Linked DNA regions of Homo sapiens: regions 1, 2 and 3 are each linked to region 4. The links are contacts of gene promoters, found by promoter capture Hi-C in blood cells and fetal thymus (Javierre and others, 2016). All regions are on one chromosome and are shown on one strand. The core of a region is centred on a gene start or on the middle of the fragment in contact, and the rest is flanking DNA. Distances in the headings are between cores, read along the strand shown. Region 1 overlaps JKAMP (JNK1/MAPK8 associated membrane protein). Region 2 overlaps L3HYPDH (trans-L-3-hydroxyproline dehydratase). Region 3 overlaps SLC38A6 (solute carrier family 38 member 6). Region 4 holds the start of PCNX4-DT (PCNX4 divergent transcript).

What was found. Contacts are between HindIII fragments. The CHiCAGO score rates a contact against its expected background, and 5 or more counts as called.
Region 1: a fragment that was not itself captured here is called in contact with the fragment with the promoter of PCNX4-DT in region 4 in 1 of 17 cell types (erythroblasts); the score reaches 5.2 in erythroblasts.
Region 2: a fragment that was not itself captured here is called in contact with the fragment with the promoter of PCNX4-DT in region 4 in 2 of 17 cell types (neutrophils and total CD8 T cells); the score reaches 6.6 in neutrophils.
Region 3: a contact is called between a fragment that was not itself captured here and the fragment with the promoter of PCNX4-DT in region 4, in 1 of 17 cell types (fetal thymus). The highest score is 5.0, in fetal thymus.

The regions. Positions count from the first base shown.
Region 1 is chr14:59,491,130-59,496,477 of GRCh38, reverse strand. JKAMP (JNK1/MAPK8 associated membrane protein) reads right to left here. Exons shown (of 7, transcript NM_016475.5): 4 at 1,254-1,460. LOC124903326 (a long non-coding RNA gene) reads right to left here. Exons shown (of 2, transcript XR_007064196.1): 2 at 4,427-4,917. It also overlaps a transcript of L3HYPDH not described here. Among named protein-coding and RNA genes, the nearest start is that of JKAMP, 9.3 kb to the right of the region's middle. The HindIII fragment of the contact is 930 bases long and covers 3,601-4,530 here.
Region 2 is chr14:59,472,704-59,477,551 of GRCh38, reverse strand. L3HYPDH (trans-L-3-hydroxyproline dehydratase) reads left to right here. Exons shown (of 5, transcript NM_144581.2): 3 at 1,338-1,460; 4 at 1,546-1,683; 5 at 4,462-4,848. The coding sequence ends at 4,587. Among named protein-coding and RNA genes, the nearest start is that of L3HYPDH, 9.3 kb to the left of the region's middle. The HindIII fragment of the contact is 4,772 bases long and covers 1-4,537 here.
Region 3 is chr14:60,983,097-60,988,440 of GRCh38, reverse strand. SLC38A6 (solute carrier family 38 member 6) reads right to left here. Exons shown (of 16, transcript NM_153811.3): 3 at 3,638-3,711. Among named protein-coding and RNA genes, the nearest start is that of SLC38A6, 4.5 kb to the right of the region's middle. The HindIII fragment of the contact is 1,189 bases long and covers 3,203-4,391 here.
Region 4 is chr14:60,089,100-60,093,846 of GRCh38, reverse strand. PCNX4-DT (PCNX4 divergent transcript) reads left to right here and starts at 2,101. Exons shown (of 5, transcript XR_943918.4): 1 at 2,101-2,144. It overlaps PCNX4 (pecanex 4), which reads right to left and starts at 1,924. Exons shown (of 11, transcript NM_001330177.2): 1 at 1,428-1,924. RefSeq lists enhancers at 1,097-1,730, 1,694-1,883, 1,974-2,103. The HindIII fragment of the contact is 2,213 bases long and covers 650-2,862 here.

The sequences.
Region 1 (5,348 bases), core at 2,816-5,315, 600 kb after region 4:
ATTTTGTTTTAAATAAGATTACATTATATCTTATTTAAATATAATATTCAATTCATTTATTAAGTTTTCCAAATAGGACCACGTTAAGTTATGCAAGGCCTTAGGAGAGTTATATGACAAGAGGGTAATTAATGCTTAGAGTTAAGCTCTACGAATCAATGAATCAACAAAAAGGACATTATCAGTGTTTTATATAGTATTTTATATATAAATTATAGCTATATATATATATCTATAAAATAATTTGCCATACCTAAGAACTGGCAGGGAGAGGCCGGGCACAGTGGCTCACGCCTGTAATCCCATCACTTTGGGAGGCCAAGGTGGGTAGATCACTTAAGGCCAGGAGTTCAAGACCAGCCTGGCCAACATGGCAAAACCCCGTCTCTCTACTAAAAATACAAAAATTAGCCAGGCATAGTGGCACATGCCTGTAATCCCAGCTACTTGGGAGGCTGAGGCACAAGAATCACTTGAACCCAGAAGGCAGAGGTTGCAGTGAGCTGAGATCTCGTGCCACTGCACTCCAGCCTGGGTGACAGAACGAGACTCTGTCTCAAAAACAAACAAAAAACTGGCAGGTAGAAAAGAAGATTTTCATTTTTTCTAAGATATCTGGTTGTTTTGTACCTATTTGCATTTCTATGTTTTTGATGTTTTATTATTAAGAACTTGCTCAAAAAGGACTAATTTCCCTGAGCATATTATGTACTGAAAGCCTGCTACAATTATGAGAATATAAATACCAGACTTCTATTTTCCCTTTCCCCCAAAAAATATCAAAATGAATTTGATTCATTTTCTAGTTCTAGAATTTACAAAAATTCATAAAAATTCTGAAACTGGAATAGTCTGGCATAATTGCATACAGAATTTTATGAATTTAATATTTTGAAAACAAAACATTCTAACAGAAATTACACTTATTTGGGGAGAAAAAAAGAAAAAACACTAATCCAAACACTGTAATAATGCCATTTACTATAAAGTGCCTCCTATATGTAAGTTATATGGTATCTAGAATGTGTGGATTAATTTAATCCTCACGACACCTTATAAGGATCATTATTCCCATTTTACCAAAGAGAAAACTGAAGTTACAAGAGGCTGTTTACATGTTCAAGGTAATAAAGCCGCTGGCAGACCCAGAACTCAAACCCACACCTGTTTTTGTCTCCAAACGCCATAAAATCTATAATAATCCTCAGAGATTTAAAAAAAAACAATGATCTTAAGTCGAAATAAACACTTACAGTGGGTAGACGGCTTCATGAGTACAGTGTACTGTGGTAACGTAATCTGGACTTGGGTTGTAAAGCATCGTGTACCAGTCAGAAAGCATCAATACTCGACATGAACGAATATAAAGAACACCAACTGGATCACTCACAAGTAAGGTGATAATAGCTGCCATGCTGCATTCAAATAATGCAGTGATGTGTTGGAAAAGTGCGCTGGAACTAGAGAAGGAAAAGAGGCATGATTACTAGAAAAATTGCAATATTTAAATGGCTTTAATAAAACATGTACATGTGTCAAGATACAGATTTCTAAATCTATAAGAAAAGTCAAAAACTACTCGAGTATAACCTTTTTTTCTCAAAAGGGATAAATAACACTGTAGCAGTATTATCTAAATGTGTAACAGAAAAGCAGAAATTATATCTACCCTGCATCTTTAGTATCTTGCCAAATTGTTGCTAAAAATTTCTTAGTTATCTGTGTATCATTTTAATCTTAATATGCACATAAAAGATGGTATGTAACGTGTTTGTTAGAAAGTATAGTAATTATAATATTATAAGCTCATCTCCTACCCAATAACTAGAACACTGTCAACAATTTGTAACTACATCTTTGTTCCTCCCCATCCATACCTCTGTCTCTCCCTTAGAGGCAACCATGTACCAAACTGCTTTTACCACTTTTTTCCAGAAAGTTTTTATCCCAACTGTATTTCTGCTTCACAACTATTCTGGTTAGTTTTGCTTATTTTTGAATGATATCACACTAATGGAAGTCTTCTGAGATTTTTTTTCTACTCAAAATTACATTTCCAAGTTTCATCCATGTTATTGCTTATAGCTGAGGTTCAGTCATTTTCGCTATTGTGTTAGGATTCCACTGTGTGACAATACTGTGATTTGTTTATCCATTCTGTGGTTAGTTAAATGTGTTGCAAATGTGTACCTGTTTGTGGGCTCAATTTTCACTTTCTTTGTGAAGCCTTTTTATAAACATGTTCTAAATTTTAATACACCAGGCTTTTATTTTTTTTTCTACTTAGCAGTTTAAATGTTTTAAAAAGTCCTTCCACACCCTGAGATGTGTGTGTATCTCACACACACACACACACCCAAATTTTCTTCTAAAAATTTTAAGGTTTTGCTTTTCACATTTATCTTTAATTCACCTAGAAGAGATTTCTGTGCCTAACGTAAGGTAGGATCTAACTTTACATTTTCCCATTTGAATTGCCAGTTGTCCCAGCAGCAGCATTTTACTGAACAGGTACTCCTTCCCACCCCTACCTTCCCAACTAATTTGCCATGGCACTTCTTTCATATAAAGTTTCATATATAATTGTCTGTGTTTTGGGTCTCTATTCTGTTTCTTGAGTCCATTTATCTATTCCTGAGCCAGAAGAATAATATGATCATAATCCTTGATGTCATGTACATTTTTTCTACTTCTTTGGTGGTCTTGGCTATTCCTGGCCCTTTGCTCTTCCATATAAATTTTAAAATTGGCTTGTCAAGTGCTCAGATAAATCCTATGTAACTTAATGGTCTGAGCTATGTCACAGTACTTGTACTGTACATGGAATATAGGAAATAGTTTCATATATTTATCTTATAGTCAACCTTTTTATTAAACTGTCTTGTTATTTCTAATATCTAGTCTATAGGTGATTTTGAGTTTTCTACTTGAACACTGTTTCCATTATGTATCATTGCATAGCAAACTACCTCAATACTTAGTGGCTTGAAACAAGAACCACTGATCATTTCTCACTATTTTGTGATGTGACTGGGCTCAACTGGGCAGTTCTTTCTGCTCCACATGGTGTCAATTTGGGAAGCACTGGTCTAGAGGCTTGACCATGCTGCAGCATTTAAAAGGACTAACTCACATGGCTGCAGTAAGTGCTGGCTGTTAGCTGGAAGCACAACCAAGGCTGTTAACAGGTGTGCCTTGGTTCTCTTCCATATGGCTTCTCTTTTGTTTTCAGTACTCTGCAGTTTAATTATGATGCATGCAGGTGTGAATTTCTGTTTATTCTGCTTGGGATGTGTTTTCCTTCTGGGATCTGTGAATCGGTTTCTCATTATTTTTGTAAAACCTGAAGCCAGTTATCTCTTAAAATACCAGCTCTCCTTGGCTGGGCGTGGTGGCTCACGCCTGTAATCCCAGCACTTTGGGAGGCCGGGGCGGGTGGATCACGAGGTCAGGAAATCAAGACCATCCTGGCTAACACAGTGAAACCCCGTCTCTACTAAAGATACAAAAAAATTGGCCGGGCGTGGTGGCAGGCGCCTGTAGTCCCAGCTACTCGGGAGGCTGAGGCAGGAGAATGACGTGAACCTGGGAGGCGAAGCTTGCAGTGAGCCGAGGTCGCACCACCGCACTCCAGCCTGGGCAACAGAGCAAGACTCGTCTCAAAAAAAAAAAAAAAAAAATAGCAGCTCTCCTTCATAGTCTCTATTTTTCCAGAGACCCTAATTAGATACTTTGGGCAAAGACTTAACAAAACATTTATGCTGTGCATGAGAATCTGGGCTTCAGGTAACTCTCTAGCTCTTTTCCTCTGGAAGCCTGATAAGGATAGAATGTCAACTATATTGCTAGGCAACACTGCTTATGATACAAATGATCCTTGCCTGGTAAATTATATCTCGACTGGGGAGAACCATAAATGAACTATAAATGCCTGATGGGGATACCATGGTTTGGCTTTCTTGAGTTCAGTGACTCTTATAATTGGCATGTCACTTGCAGGACCCCAGAAGTTCATGGAATTGTTATAAGAGAGACTGGCTTCTGTGAGGTGTAAGACTTTAAGCCTGGACCACTCCCACACCTACCCAACATGGATCTCACCTTCTTGCACCTGATTTTCCATCTCCTTCTTTCTCAGTGCAATATTCCATTATTTCTATGCATTTTTTTCTAGTTCACTAATTCTATCTTCAACTGTTTAATCTGCTGACTACCTTTTTTTTTATTTTGGCAAGTATAAACTTTCATTTCTAAAAGTTTCCTTTTCTTCCCCATCACATGTATTTATTCCTAATAATCTTATTGTTATGGACAGCTTGTGACTACATCCTTACTTTCTTTATAGGTAGCAGTTACATATCCTGTAGGTGAAAGTCCATTATCTGTGTCCTCTCAGAGCATAAATATATTGTTTGTTGCATGTACCAATAAGTCCTAGTGCTATTTTATTTAGTAACCACAGACTATGAGGCCATTACTAGATTTTAATGAGCAAGAGTCTTACAGGGTTAAATTGAGAATGGGGAAGCTTTCCAGCAAAGAGGCTCTGCTACTTTTGTCAGCAGCCATGGCCACTACTACCTTAGGCTTCAGGCCCTTGAGGGTCTAGTCTTAGCAGAGGCTACCCAAGATTCAGTATCCAGATAACACTGCTGCTACCAGCAATTGACCTCAGACAACCCTCTCATCCCAACTGCCTGCCTTGTCACTCTGGCCTAACTCAGGGTGGGCTGGTTTGTGTTTTGAAAGAGAAGAGTTCCTGGAGATCTCTCCATCTCCAGCTGGGACCAGCAATGTCTCACATAGTTTATCTTTCCCAGACTTTAGTTATTTCATGCAGGTGGGTCACTTGGAGCTCCTAATTAACTCACATTGTTGGAAACAGAACTCCTGTGCCATTTTACAAAGATGAAAACACTGAAAACATAAACACACATTCACATTACATAATTTGACATTTTGCTTCCTTATAGAATTAATATTTTCAGAGGCAAAATCCCAACTTCATTATTTCTTGCCATTACTTTGATAACCTTCTTAACTGGTCTTCTTGTCATGTTCTCTTTCAACCTATCTACAGCCAGACACATAATCTTTACAAAATGAAATACAATTTTAGAACTCCTCTCATTAAACTAATTTTGAGTCTTTTTGTCTTTCTGGAAAAATACCCCCACCAGCATCGTCTTCTCTATTTCCTGGCCATGCTAAATGACTTTAAGTTCACTTGTGCCTCCACACATCTGGGCATGCATCACCCTCCACCTCAAACACATTTTACCTATCTGCCAAACCATGCATCCTTCCAGATCAGCTCAGGGGTTATCCCCAGTTTTTATGAACATTTG
Region 2 (4,848 bases), core at 902-3,401, 620 kb after region 4:
TGGATATCTTAATAAAAGGTGTAATTTTGTACTTCTCATTTGAGTTTGAACTCAACAAGATGGCAAGGGGTGGACTTTGAGGGAGGAAGGATTCTGAGAAAAATGAGGACAAGTTCTGTTATTGATGTATCAGACAGTACAATTAATTACTCTGTGAACTGTTGACTATTCACACTGCTGAAGCAGATTTAGGAAAAGGCCATGGGGATGGAGAGTTAAAGTTAATATAAATTCATCTTAATTCATTCACTCTTTTAACAAACATTTACCACAAACATACTGTATATATGTTAGACATTCTGCTAGATCCTGGAGACTCGAAGAAAGAACAAACCCCACCTTTGAGGAGCTAGCTCCAGTTGGGGAAGCGAGCATACCTGTGAACAGTGTTATGTTGGAATGTGCTATAGTGGAGGTGGGGCGTATCACTTTAAGAGGATGGAGAACAAAGATTCAATCTGCAGGCCGCTTTAACTTGGTTTCAGATGGACTCTTTGGATGTTAAGAACCCAAAGCTGTTCCATTGCTTTAAATGACATGTAACTGGAAGTAGAAAGTACTAATTGTAAGCATATACAAGGGAAGTCAGATTATAGCAATCTCAGTCATACTGTAAATGTTTGCAGAAATCCAGGAAAAGTTAAAGAACTAGACTTCCAAGAACAAGTAGCTTTGCATATTTGGGCCTGAATCTACCATTGAGTGACTTAGCTACCCTGCCAGTGCCTGCTTCTTTGTGTGCATATCTGCTGCTTTTTGATGAATCAACTGACTTCATCGTCTACAATAAATCTTTTTTTCCTCCAATTGTTTCTCTTGCCTAATAGTTTCTGCATTCTTACAGAATGTTATATCCTCTCACAGCCTTTGTCTCTATCATTGGTGTTAACTTCAGCTCTAGATACTCAGAGCCTGATTTTCCCACATTATCCTCCTTAAGCTCCTGAGAATAAGACTATGATTGCCTTAGCTCATCCTGTTTGAGCAGCCATCGCCAGCCTGTGGATTGACCATCCTGGGGTCAGTGCTGCAAAGACTATGTGTATTTGGGGTGGGAGGGGTGTATAAAATAGGACTGCTTTTTTAGCAAAGGCTATATGCAGGACAGCTTCCTTAGAAGGGACTCAAAGTATGATAAGAATTATAAATTGCAGTAAAACTATGTTTCTTCATCTAGACAAAGACATAATTTCTAGCAATTAGTATACGTTGCCCAAAAAGGTATTTTAAAAATGATAAGGATTAAAAAGTTATGTCTAAGAATGACCCATCTGCATTATTTATAAATTTGAATCAAAATATTTATTTTGCATGTGATCTTTTTTTGTTACTTGCAGTTTAAAATTAATCATCCTGATAGTGAAGACCTTGCCTTTTTATATGGAACTATATTAACAGATGGAAAAGATGCTTATACCAAGGAACCAACCACCAACATTTGTGTTTTTGCAGATGAACAGGTATTAAAACTGTAATGTTTAGGGACAAAAGCCAGGTAATATGGAACACACTATGAACATTCTGTCTTCATTTATTCTGAAACAGGTTGACAGAAGTCCCACTGGCTCAGGAGTGACAGCCCGAATTGCCTTACAGTATCACAAAGGGCTTCTGGAACTGAACCAGATGAGAGCCTTCAAAAGCAGTGCAACTGGCTCAGTATTCACAGGGAAAGCTGTGAGGGTAAGTGGCACCCTTAGCTTCTTATTTATAAATGTGTCACTCATGAGACTGGAGAGGCCTGAGTTGGGTGTTTGATAAATTTCTTCACTCAGCTCTCAGAAGAGAATTTTAAAGCAGGCCTGTAAAAACTTCTTTTCAACTAGGACATTGGTTATCCAGTGTGGTCTTGGGGCCCCAGCGGGCCCCTAAGGTCCTTTCCATGGGTTCAGAGGGTCAAAACTGTGTTCATAATAATGACATTATTTGCTTTTCACTCTCATTCTCTCAAGAGTGTACAGTGGGGTTCTTCAGAGGCTACGATGTGATATGTGATAACCCAACCAATTGAATGCAGAAGCTAGATATGAGAACCTAGTTGTCTTCTGTTAAGCCAGACATGAAACAGGTTTGCAAAAATATCAAACAATGCCACTTTTCTCATAATTTTTTTTGTTTTGGCAAACAGTTATTTTCACAAAAATGTGTTATTCATATGTTAATGTATAATGGGTTATTTTTAAAATGAAGTAATGAACAGATATATCCAATTCCTAATACAGTAAATATTGATAGATATAACTTATATAAAGAAAAACTCTTTGGGGTCCTCAAATCTTAAGGTATAAAAGGGTCCTAAGACCAAAAGGTTTGAGAACCATTAGGATTTGGGGTTTTTTTTTGTTTTTTTGTTTTATTTTATAATAGTGTTTTATTTGATATAATAGGATGTGAAAGCCCTGAAAAGTTGTGGAACATCAAATTTTTGTAATGGAATAAAATTTTAAATGTGCTAACAGCTAAGTAATGAATCTTATCTCAGTAGTAAATGAAATCTACTACAGAATGATCTACATTCAGTAAATTATTCTACTCATAAAGAGTCCTTTAACATAGCAAACAATCTATCCTAATATAGCTGTTTTTAAGATTTGGTGTTTCTGAATATTAGAGTTTCCTTAAGGATCTCTACATCATATAGTGATCTGAAACATGTGAAACCATTTATGTTGTATGCAAAAATTTGGAACATACTGTCTTCAAAATCTGAAATGGAACATAAAAATAACAACATACATTTATTGGATACTTCACTGTGCATCAGTTTCCAAGCTAAGCACTTGATACATGCCATCTCATTTAATCCTCACAAGAATCCTACAAGGTCAGTACTGTGCTGTTATTATCGTTTTTCAATAGATGATAAAACGGAGAATTGGAGAAGTTAGGTAATTTACCAGAGGTTAGTTAGTGAGTAGCAGATCCAGGTCATGAAGGTGGGTCTCTGAACAGACCACATGCTGTTAAGCATTATATTATATTGCTGTCAGACAAAGCAAAAGGTCAATGAGGCTTTATATTATAGGAGCTGTTATGAGAAGAATCTGGGATTGCAATGTCCCCCCAAATAGAGAGGGAGCCGAGAGACCAAAGAATGACTCAGACAAGTCCAGGTTGGCAAGTAGATGCATTTATTAGAACTTCCATATAAGGCACTCCTGGGAAGCAGCTGAACAACTGTGGAGACCCATCCTGCCTCCTGACTCTAAGCTGCTTTTAAGCTAATTTTCTGGCTCTTTGCCTACTGTGTATGTGTGATAGGACTGTTTTCCTTGGTATGTTCCCAGATATTCTCTGGGATATTTGGGTTCTCAGGGATACCTGCTTCTTGGCTGGGCACCATGCCCTTGGCTTACCCCCCAGCCTTCAGGGTTCAAGCAGTGGACATACACCCTTACATAACCTGGTGAAGGACCTGTCACACTACAGCAGCTTTATAAAAAGATATAAAAAGATAAAGTATTATACCCTAACAATATTTGACATTTTACCTTTAGCTTCAGTTATTATTCTTTTAAAAATTAGAACATAAAAAGATATGCTGAAGTTAATGTTTCCAGTTACTTGTTTTATAGTTATTGATCATGCTTGCCAGAATGTCTTCACTTGCATCATGCTCTCTCCCTGTCTGTGTGGGCCCGTCCAGGCTCCCTGATGGTACCTTCTCAGTTTCTTCCCCTGCTGCAGCTTCCTTTCCCTGTCCTTCCATTTAGATGTTACCGTCACTTCATCCCCACCTTCCTTCTCATCTCTTCTACAGTTTGATGCTGCTGGGCAATTTCATCCACTTCCTAGGCTTCAGTTCTCAACCATCTACTGATGATGACTCCCAAATGTTTATCCCTGCCCTGACTACCTACCCTGTATGTCTTTCTGAATATAACGCTCTTAATCCCAACTGTTTATTATACTCATCTCTAAATGACTGTCCCAGAGGTGTCTCAAACTCACCTTGTTAAAAAGTTCTTCCTTTCTTCCTTTCTCAAATGTGCTCTTCCTTTCTCTCCCCATTGTGTTTAATGGCATCACTAGCATCATTTCCAAGCTAGAAACTATGGTTATAATTAACTTATTGCTAGTCCTCAATTCCCACATGCATTGATCAAGAGGCCTATCAGTTCTACCTCCAAACTATCTCTATGTTAGTATATATTCCCCTTCTCCATCTTCACTGAAAACTCCCATAGTGACTCTGGAATCAATCATTCAGTGAATTGAGGTTATCTCTTAACATGTTTCTGGGTCTCTTGTCTCTCTCTTCTCCAGTTTGATCCCCACTTTACAGCTACAGTTATCTAAAACACAAGTCTGACCATGTCATTCTCCTTAAAAACCTTCCCTGGCCCATAGGATTAACCCTTGGCCTTTCCTTCACATGATAAAAGTCAAGAGTACAGTTTTCAAGCCAGATATAATACGAGTGCAATATTTTGATAGTATACTCCCTTCATCTTTTTTCAGGAAGCGAAATGTGGTGATTTTAAAGCTGTTATAGTGGAAGTATCAGGACAAGCCCATTACACGGGTACAGCAAGCTTTATAATAGAAGATGACGACCCATTGAGGGATGGATTTCTTCTCAAGTGACTTCTTCCATGATTTTAAGGGCTTTCTTTTTAAAGTAATCATTATCCTTAAGGACTGTTTTCTCTAAATTATATGAAAACAAATAAATTATACATATAAACTAACTCTCATTCTTTGTAAAATACTACCCTGTGGCTAAATATAAAGTCATTATACCTCGTATTTGCAACTGTATTTGTATAAATATCACTTATGTCTAGCATACAAAATGCCAGAAATTCAGAGTCTTTTTCTAGTGATTAACGTATCAGGTAAAATTAA
Region 3 (5,344 bases), core at 2,548-5,047, 890 kb before region 4:
ATCCAGAATTATAACAGGGGTAATACTGAAGAGAACTAAAAGGTGAGTAGAAGCTAAAATTTAGCTAAAACTTTCATGAAATGACAGGAAATGGTCTAGGAGTCTATAGATGACAATAGTAAGGAGAGCCGTAGATGGTATACATTCATGAGATTAAAAGCTGGGGGGTTCAAGGAGAGGAAGATGGTTGAGAAGCAGAAATGTGGGACAAACAGGACACCTATACCATCTTCAAATTAGTATGAGAGACATAAAGAGAAAAGACTGACCACTTGAGAGAACTACAGGGAAGCCTCAGAGGAGGTTCTCGTAGTGTAAGAAACAGACAGAAATGTTCAGAAGAGAATTAGAGACATGTGAGTTTTGCTGATGATTGACTGTGAGTTCCAGAGAGCACAGTGGAAGGGTTTCAGGAGTTAGAGAGCAGTGGAAGACGAGGTCAGAAACAGATGACAGCCATATGGGATGAGTCTGAGAAATGAAAGATAACCTAATATACTTGAAATGACTAACACAAATTGAGATAGATGGTATAATGTCATAATCCAAATGGTCTCAAGGCAAATAATGGTGACAATCCAGTGAGTAGTAGGGATCAACGACTAGGGAGTTGTGGTTCGGCCAGAGGTATGCAGAGTTCTAGGACTCTCACTCTCTCCAGTTGACAGTGACATGGAAGCCAGTGGAGGGGAGCTGTGGGTTTAGTATCAGAGCATGAGAAGTATTCCAAAAGAATGGCAACGAACCAACTATTTCTGAGATAGTAGTGTGTACAACACCCTGCAATCTTTAGGGATTTTTGCCCCAGTGGGCATTTTTGCCCCAGGGAGCACTCATTTGCCAAGGACTTGACATTTCATATACATTATTTTATTTCACTCTCAGAACAATTCCAAGAAGGAAGTGTTATCATTGCCATTTTACAGATGACAAACGAAGGCTAGAGAGAATAAGGTTCTTTACATTCCACCTCAGCTCCCATGAAAAGTCCTGATAGACCCCAAACGCTCCATAAAATCTAAAGTAGAATTTCATGTGAAGAAATCCTTTACTTTTATAAAGATGAAAATTTCTCTTTACCCTTTACCACCAGCAAATAAATGAAGAAGTTATTTCATAAAAACTCATGATAGCTCTTTCTCTTACCAATGAATTCAATCTGAGCATAATAATCCTTTATGACAGTCCAACAAACTGTTGGGAGAGAGTTAGTTACGTATTATACTCTAGTCTTTATATATGAATGTATGTATTGAAAAAAAAAAAAAAAAGGAAAAGCCTACCTCCACAGAGAATTTTACAAAGATTGAAGGAATTCAATCAACGGAAGACAGGTGAGTCAATGTGCAGGCAGAACCATGAAGTAGTTAGTTCATGGGCCCAAGTAGGCTACAGAAATCAAAGAAAAAGAAAAAAGAAGAGAAACAGATATATTCACTTCATACGCCCCAGAGTTACAGAAAAGAACAAACACAGTGTCAGAATCTTAAAGTTAAATACATGTGAACCGAAGGAGTAAAAAATTAAAATTACTTAGAAATCTCCACACACTGAATACTACTCCCACATAACCGAAATAAAACATTTTACTTAAATTAAAACTAAAATGAAGTTTTAAAATGAAGCTTGAAAGACATAATTGCCACATAGTTGACTAAAGTATTAATCTTTTAACAGAATGAATTGAAAGAATCTACCAAGATGTTAAAGTATCACAATTAAGTAAAATTTTTTTCACATTCAGCAAAATTTCAATACATGCAATTAAAATTCAAGTTTCAGCAGGATTTACAAATATATTTATCTAAAGCTATTATTCCTAAATTCAGGATGCTTTTATGAACAACCTGTTACTTTAGGATTAATATTTGTACTGCTTCCTAGTATTTTCATCTGTCTGCACATTCACCCAAGCCCCTTGAGAGCAAAGGCGTGCACTGGATGGCCAAAGCACTGTTAGAAGTTGTGGCTATAAACTATGAATCCTAAACTAGATTTGCATAAGAATCACTTGGAGGACTTGTTAAAAACATATCTGGCACTGGCTGGCCAAAGCACTGGTACAAGTTAGAGCTATAAACTATGGATCCTAAACTGGTTTTGCCTTGTTAAAAACATATTCTTGAGTCTCACCTCAGATTTTTGAAATTAGAATCCCTGAGGCTTAGAGCTCTCTGTGTATAAAAAGATCTATGAGTATTTCTGATGATGGACAGGTTTTAGGAAAACAAACTAGAGCAGTGGCTTCAGAATTATTCTGAAGAGTCTTAAAATTCTTAAGAAACATCACTGGGCTTCACTCACCTGTTTCAGCACAGAATAGTCTCACTGATATAGTTTGGTTTGTCAGACCCCTCCAAATCTCATGTTGAAATCAGATCCCCAGTGTTGGAGGTAGGGCCAAAGGGGAGGTGTTTGGGCCCTGGGGCCAGATCCCTCATGAATGGCTTGGTGCCTTCCTTGGGGTAATGAGTGAGTTTTCACTTTTATTAGTTTCATGAGAGCTGGTTGTTAAAAAGAACCTGGCATGCCCCTCCTCTCTCGCTTCCTCTCTTGCCATGTGATCTCTGCATATCCTAGCTCCCCTTCACCTTCCACAATGAATGAAAGCAGCCTGAGCCCCTTACTAGATGCAGATGGAGCAGAAAAGCCCCTCATAAGAAGGGCCATGCTTCTTGCAGAGCCTGTAGAACTATGAGCAAAATAAACCTCTTTTATTTATAAATTATGCAGCCTCAGGTATTCTTTTATAGAAACACTAAATGAATTAAGAAATCCATTTTTATCTATTTTGTGTATCTACTTTTCTTCTTAAAATCTGAACATCACAAGGCCAGATAAAGCAAAACGAACTCATCCATATAAGAATTAAACCCATGATTTTGGCATCAAAGCTGACCTAATCCAAAGACAAAAGAGACTAGACAGATAAAAAGACCAGGACTGATGAACATAGAATATTTGTTAATGACAAAAGGAAAATCTTAGAAAAGCACTTCTATAATTCATATACTTTTATTTACTGGATCCTAAAAGAACTTATTCAATACATGACTGAATTGCATAATAAAATTCCAAATGGGAAAAAGTATATACACAAATATATTGAATTAACTGCACATACTTATTTCTCTTAGGAAAAAACTACCCTATTCTAGACTTGCAATTAAAAATACAAAATGTGTCTAAATAAATTAAAGCTTTGTGACCTTACTTCCTACAATCCTAATTCTGCCATCCCTACCTCTGACTAGCAGGCAGATGGGGGCAGGGAAGGCAACAGTAGCTCTGAGAAGGTGTTCTCTCCTTGAGAAAATGATTTCTCCATAAGCATAAGGTTTGGATCCTTTGAACACCTTTTAGACCCTCCCATGATCTACTCTACTCCAGAAAATTAGGTTGTGTTGTGGAGGAAAGCAGGTAAAAATGCTAATTACCTCCTCCCATCCTGTGCTTGGATATTCCCCCACAGTATTGGGTCTGTATATCCTGGTTTTTCAAATTCTCCATTCCGATCACCCTATCTAATAAAAATGTATGCTCACTGGATATTAGATTTGAGACATCCAGTTCTATATGTAGATACAAACTCAAGAGACTCCTTTATTAAATGAAGCAGCATAACATTTTTACTCACCTGTCTGAATACACATACTAAGCAGAAGATGGACTGAGTAAGAAGCCAGGAGAGCAACTGTCAGCAGCAAGAAGCTAAAACATAAAAGAACACCTGGTCAAAACCTCCCAAAAGTTTGTCTTTTGTATGGTGTCTCATTACAAAAACAAATTGCTTAACAGTCAAATATTCACAGGAACTATCTCTGAGTAGCAGAATTATGTTCATTAAGGAAATTAAGAAGATACTTTTCTACTTTTTTGTATTTACCAATTTTATTTAAATGAAAATATACTGATTTTAAAATAAAAAAAAATAAAAACCAAACTTTTTTAAAAATACAAGCAAACTTCCTCATTTTGCAGTCTTGTCTGCTGACTGCTGAATCAGCCATTAAATAATCTTGTAATATTTCCTTTTTATGACTGGTTTTCTTCTTATTTTAAGTCTAAACAGAAGTTTTACTTATGCAATCTCATTGTCTTCTCTTTTTCCCTTCCTCCCTCTACTTCCAGTGATATTGACCTCCTTATCATACCTTCATCTTATTAAGGTGTACTTAAGATTTATTTAGGCTGTATTTTCTAGCATCTATTAAACGCACACACTCTCCAAACCAAACTAAATTAAAATAATGTAGTTAACACACCTCTAATGATGCAATTTGAAAAATGTGCAAACAATGTAATGATTGAGGTCCTCTCACCAACAGTGTGAAAGAAAAAACTTAGATAATTTCCTATTCATTTTTAGGAAGACACCAGCAGGACAAGCTTCTATACAGCTATCCCCAGTGAACTGCCCCAGTCATTGAAGAAATTTTCTCTCTGTGGTCCAGTTAATACTTGTTAATAAATAAAATTGAGAGGTAAAAGTACAAATGTCATTAAACTGACATCAGGAACTTCACAAAATAACACTTTAGCATCACCAAAAATGATGGTTGCTATGACTGGGTGAGCACACATTCAGCAGTATATATCTGCATGTAAGACCCTGGTGCATAAATTATGATTTTTCAAAGAGAATCAAAAAAAAAGTCCTCTGACTATGTCTTGCTTAAGGTGTCACATATAGTTTTTAATTTTAAAAATAATGAAAGTTTGTGAGTACATTCCATAATAAAAGCAAGTTGGGTTACTTAAAAGTTGCTTTGCTTATCAAAAAATTTGGAATAAAAGCAGGAAATAAACATAAAAGAGACTCCCTAGGCATTTTAAATTTCCTAGTAAATAGATCTGCTTCTACTGACAAAGCCAATTTGTTAATTCATTCTATTAGCCATGTGGTGCTAGATGCTAAGAATAAGGTCCAGTTATAAAGGATTTTTCTATTTTTTAAATTTTTTAGACAGGATCTCACTCTGTCACCCAGGCTAGAGTGCAGTAGCCCAATCATGGCTCACTGCAGCCTCAACCTCTCAGGCTCAAGCAGTCCTCCCAAGTAGCTAGGACTACAGGCGCACTCCACCATACCAGGCTAATTTTTGTATTTTGGGCAGAGATGGGGTTTCACCATCTTGCCCAGGTTGGTCTCAAACTCGTGGGTTCCAGTGATCCGCCTGCCTTGACCTCCAGTTGTAAAGGATTTCAGTTTAGTGGGAACATTAATTTCCAAACATATCATTGTAACAATTATAATAACAGAATGAATATACAAAGTACTATGAAAGCACAGAATATCCAGGATTGTCTTCTATTTTGGGCAAACTGGCCTACAAGCTAAGTC
Region 4 (4,747 bases), core at 852-3,351:
TCATGAGACTGTGGAGAAATCAGAACCCTCAAACATATCTGGTGGTTATGTAAAATGATACAGCTCCTTTGGGAAACAGTCTAGCAGTTCCTCAAAAGGCTAAACATAGAGTTACCATATAACCCAGTAATTCTACTCTCAGGTATACACCCAACAGAGATAAAAACATATATGTCTACACAAAAATCTGTACACAAAAGATTCATAGAAGAAATATTACTAACAGCCAAAAAATGAAAACAACCCAAATGTCCATCAATGAATGGATAAATGTGATATATCCACACAATGAAATTAGACTATAAAAAGGAATGAAGTACTCATACATTCTACAACATGGCTGAACCTTGAAAACACACTAAGTGAAAGCCCGTTACAAAAGGCCACATATTGTATTTTCCCGTCTATGTGAAATGTCCAAAATAAGCAAATTTATGGGGACAGAAAACAGATTAGTAATTGCTTATGGCTGGTGGGGTAAGGATAATGGGGGGAGGGAGGTGGTGACTGCTGAGGGTAAAAGGTTTCTTTTTGGGGTGATGAAAATGTTCCAAACTTGACTGTGGTAAGGGTTGCACAATTCTATAAATGGGTGAATTGTATTGAATGTAAATTACATCTCAATAAAGCTCTTAAAAAAGAAAAAGCTTCCCTGATTGGTATTTTCCACAGCAGTTAATAATTAGAAGGCAGCTCTTTAAGTAGGAAATTTAGGAGCAGCCAACAGATGCTACAAACAGTTAAATTCGTGAAAAGGCAACATCTGAACTGGATGCTATGCTAAAGGTCTGGGGATTTGGCGTGAGTGGCGGTGGATACCAAATAACATGAAGGGCAGTCTTTGCCCTAACTGCAGGAATGATTTAATGAAGAAAACAAACACCTAAAAATAGTAAAAAATGAGTAAGTGAAAAATGATGGATACAGAGCAGATAACCAATTCAGCGGCATGGAAAACAACTTCCGATTCACTGGAGTAAATTCTGGTCCTGGAGAGACAAGAGGTTGTGGGGACAGAGGTCGAGATCAGTGGGGAAGGAGCGCTTCACGTTCAGGGGGCCATGAGTTGAACAATTCGGACAAAAGAGGTTTAGTTGGAGATATTGCGAGAGTACAGTTCTACCTAACGGACACAGCTCCGGGTGGGTGTGCCATATTCCATTTCGTACGAGTCTCTTAGAAACAAAATGCTACAATTCAACAGGCTAAAGTAGTCTTTCAAAGGAAAGTTAAAATCACACTGAATTACTATCTCTAATGACTGAGTTCATTAAGCGCAATAATTGCACTTAAAGGTTTTGCAACGAAAAACGAAAAATATGTTTCTTGTGGCAATGAAAGCCCCTAGAACAACTTGGCTCTCCGCACAGGCTTGGACATTAAGATGCCGAAGAAGTCCCGAGGTGGACGTCGGACAACGAACGTACCTCAAGTCACCCGAGGGAAGAGAAGACGCGAAGGCATCCCAGGGACCGCATTTTTGCAGGTAAACTCGGGCTGGGCGCTCCCGCCGGGAGGTTGGTTAGTGCCCGAATGCGGAGGCAGAAAAGCTGCGGCGGCCGAATAACGAGCTCACCGCGGCCCCGCCCGGGCCAGCTCTCGGTTTCCATGGCTAACGTCTACTCCGGCGGCCGCCACCCGGAGCTGAACGGAGCGCGTGCGCGTTCGGGGACCTCGTCGGCGCCTGGCTGGCCTCGCTGCCCCGGTCTGTGCTCGCTCCCGAGGCGGGCCCTGCCGTAAAGCAGGCTTGGCCTAGAGGAAGCAGGGAAATAGCGCGCTTCGTTCGCGCCAGGACTAGGCCAACATCTGCCTGGCCGGGGACGACGGGAGTCGCTCGTGCTCTGGTCTCGCACTGGGCCTAGCAGAAGCAGCAGCGGGGAAAGCCGAGACGCCCTGAACGTTCCCTTGGGCCGGGCCTTTACGCAAGAGCGTCGTTGCCCTGGTGACGTGACGTCCTTCCTCAGGATTGTGCGCCGGGGTGGGGAAACAGACGTGCAACCGCCATTTTGCGCATTAATTTACCAGAGGTCGGGTCAGGCTGTCTTAACGCAGGCAGAGGGGTGTGGCAGATCTCCAACCGCTCGGGGTCCCGTGATTTCCATTAATGAATTCGCACACTGGCGTTACCACTCAACACACCGACGGTAATGAATGTTTTTGAGTGATACTTCATGCAGCCTATTCGGCTTGGACGATTGGGGACTGCATAACGTGATCGCTATCGCCTCAGTTTGTGGCTGCGTTTTAAAATACAAGGAACCAACATGTCCATTATAGAAACGTGTTATTAAGATATTAATAAAACAAGGCAGAGTTCCGGCGTTCCAATTAAAAGGCCATGGCTGATTCATATTAGTGTGGCGGGAATCTTTACAGCCTGGCCGCAAAGACCCCAATTAACGCTAGTTAAAAAGTTATCCCTATACCCAGGGCTCACCTCCCCCATTCTCCACGAAATATGATCCCCCCCCCGCCCCACCAAGTTCTGGACACGTTCCAGATTGCCAACTGGGAGTCCTCAAGACGGCCCCGGAGAGCGTTAACAATGATTGGTCTCAGCTGATTTAGAGGCTCGGGTAAGGGAACTTTGAAGCTAACTTGTCGGTATCAAGGTACCCGCAATTCCCCCATGTGATTGGGTAGATGCCCTAGCAGTTCTGCACACTTCAGCGTCCAAGATGACTTGTGGACTGTTTTGTTTGGATCTCCATTCCTCAAAACTATAAATGCGGCCTTAATTTTTTTTTTTTTTTAATTCTTGGCTCTTGGCTGTCTTGGAAATGCTGACTTTGTATTTAAGTATTTAGGTTTTCAGGTCGTAATAGAAAAATAATTACTGTGTTCATATTAAAAGCCAAAGCTTTATTTATTTATTTTTAAGATATTGTGTCCAGAGCAAAAGTGTAGTGTGTTGAAAGCATGTGGAAGAAAACCCCGGATATACATATACTTGTCTTCAAGGACTTAATTTGCAGGTAGACCCTTTCATAGTTTGGTATCTTCACGATTTGATAGAATATGGGAAAACGTGCTGTTGGTCCATCCATAGTTTTTCTCATTGAAGCTCACTCATTGCGGGTCAGAGTACCACATTAAGCATCTCGGAAGCATCACTTACCGCCAAGAAGTCTGAGTTTCATGTAATTAAGAGTGGAGGCTCCAGAGTCAGGAAGTCTGGGTTGAAACCCTGGCACTACTGCTTACTACTTGTGAGATCTTGAGGTTATGTAATTTCTCTAGTGCTCAGTTTCCCCATATCTTGTAAAATAAGGCAAATAATAGAACTTAACCCGCAGAGAGTTATGTCATTGGATTAAATCAAATAATTGTAAATTGCTTAGCAGAGTAAATGGCACAGCTTAAGTGCTTAGTAAGGATGAGCTATTATCTTTATGTAGAGAGTCTGTATTTATGCTTGTTCTTCTCATGGGCATTACATATGACCCAAGCAGAATTAACATGTTTATTGTTGAAATATCTGCTGTTTTTCAAATATATTTGAACATCGTGCTTTCTTAGAATAAAATTAGTAGGGCATATGGTACAAGCCCTTTGGTTAGCTGTGTATAAAATATTCATTCAACATTTATTGAAATAGTGAAGGGAATAGTGGTTCCTATTTGTCAGGAACTACACTAATTGCTGCAGATATAAAGTCAAATAAAACATGATCCTTAAGGAATTTACCAAAATATAACTTGGACATCAAGGACATAACTTGAACAACAAGGACATCAGTAATTACAGTGTATGTGATAAACAGGTATGCGCTGAGCTTCAGAAACAAAGTGGGACACATAATTCTGGGGAAATTAAGGATGGTTGCAATCCATTTTTAAAGGGTGAGTGGACAGCTGGGCCAGGCGTGGTGGCTCTTGCCTGCAATCCTAGCACTTTGGGAGGCTGAGGTAGGAGGATCGCTTGAGCCTAGGAGTTTGAGGCAACATGGTGAAACCCTGTCTCTACAAAAGATACAAAAAATTAGCCAGGTGTGGTTGTGTGCGCCTGTGGTCCCAGCTACTCAGAGGCTGAGGTAAGAGGTTGTTGCAGTGAGCCGAAATTGCACCACTGCACTCCAGCCTGGACAACAGAGTGAGATCTTGTCTCAAAAAAAAAAAAACAAAACAAAAACAAAAACAGAGTTAGCTGGGAGAAGAGGTATTCCAGGTAGGGGAACATTTATTCTTTAATTCATTCAACACATACTTAGAGCATACATAGAATCAGTACTTTGTGTACCTCATTTAATCTTAACCTTATGAGGTAGCTTATTATTATTTCAAATGTAAGGAATCTGAGCTTGAGAAAAGTAAAATAAGTGATGACATCTGGAGTTGAGTCCGTATCTGTATGTCTTCAAGATTCGTGTATTTTTTCCTACCCTGCTGATTCACATAAAATGAAACAAATTGTGAAAAATCTGGAACTGCTGCTTCAGCCAGAGAAGATGTTTAGCCAGGCATTATCATGACATACGTGTTATTGTGTAATGGTAATGCCCGTTTTCAGTTCATACCCAAGTTAACTTCTCTTGCTAAAAAGTAAAACAAAAGCAAAACCCACACCATAAACCCTCACTCTGCCTTGTTCCCAGAGACCACTGGCCAGAAGTCTCTGAAAATAATGCAGAGCTGCAGCACTAGGTATGGGCCAAAGAGAAGGCAAAATCATGCTCACAGTTCCGGGTGCCTTTAAAGAAACACAGGAGGAATAATAGCTTTGGGAAGAAAGATAATGAATCTACTTT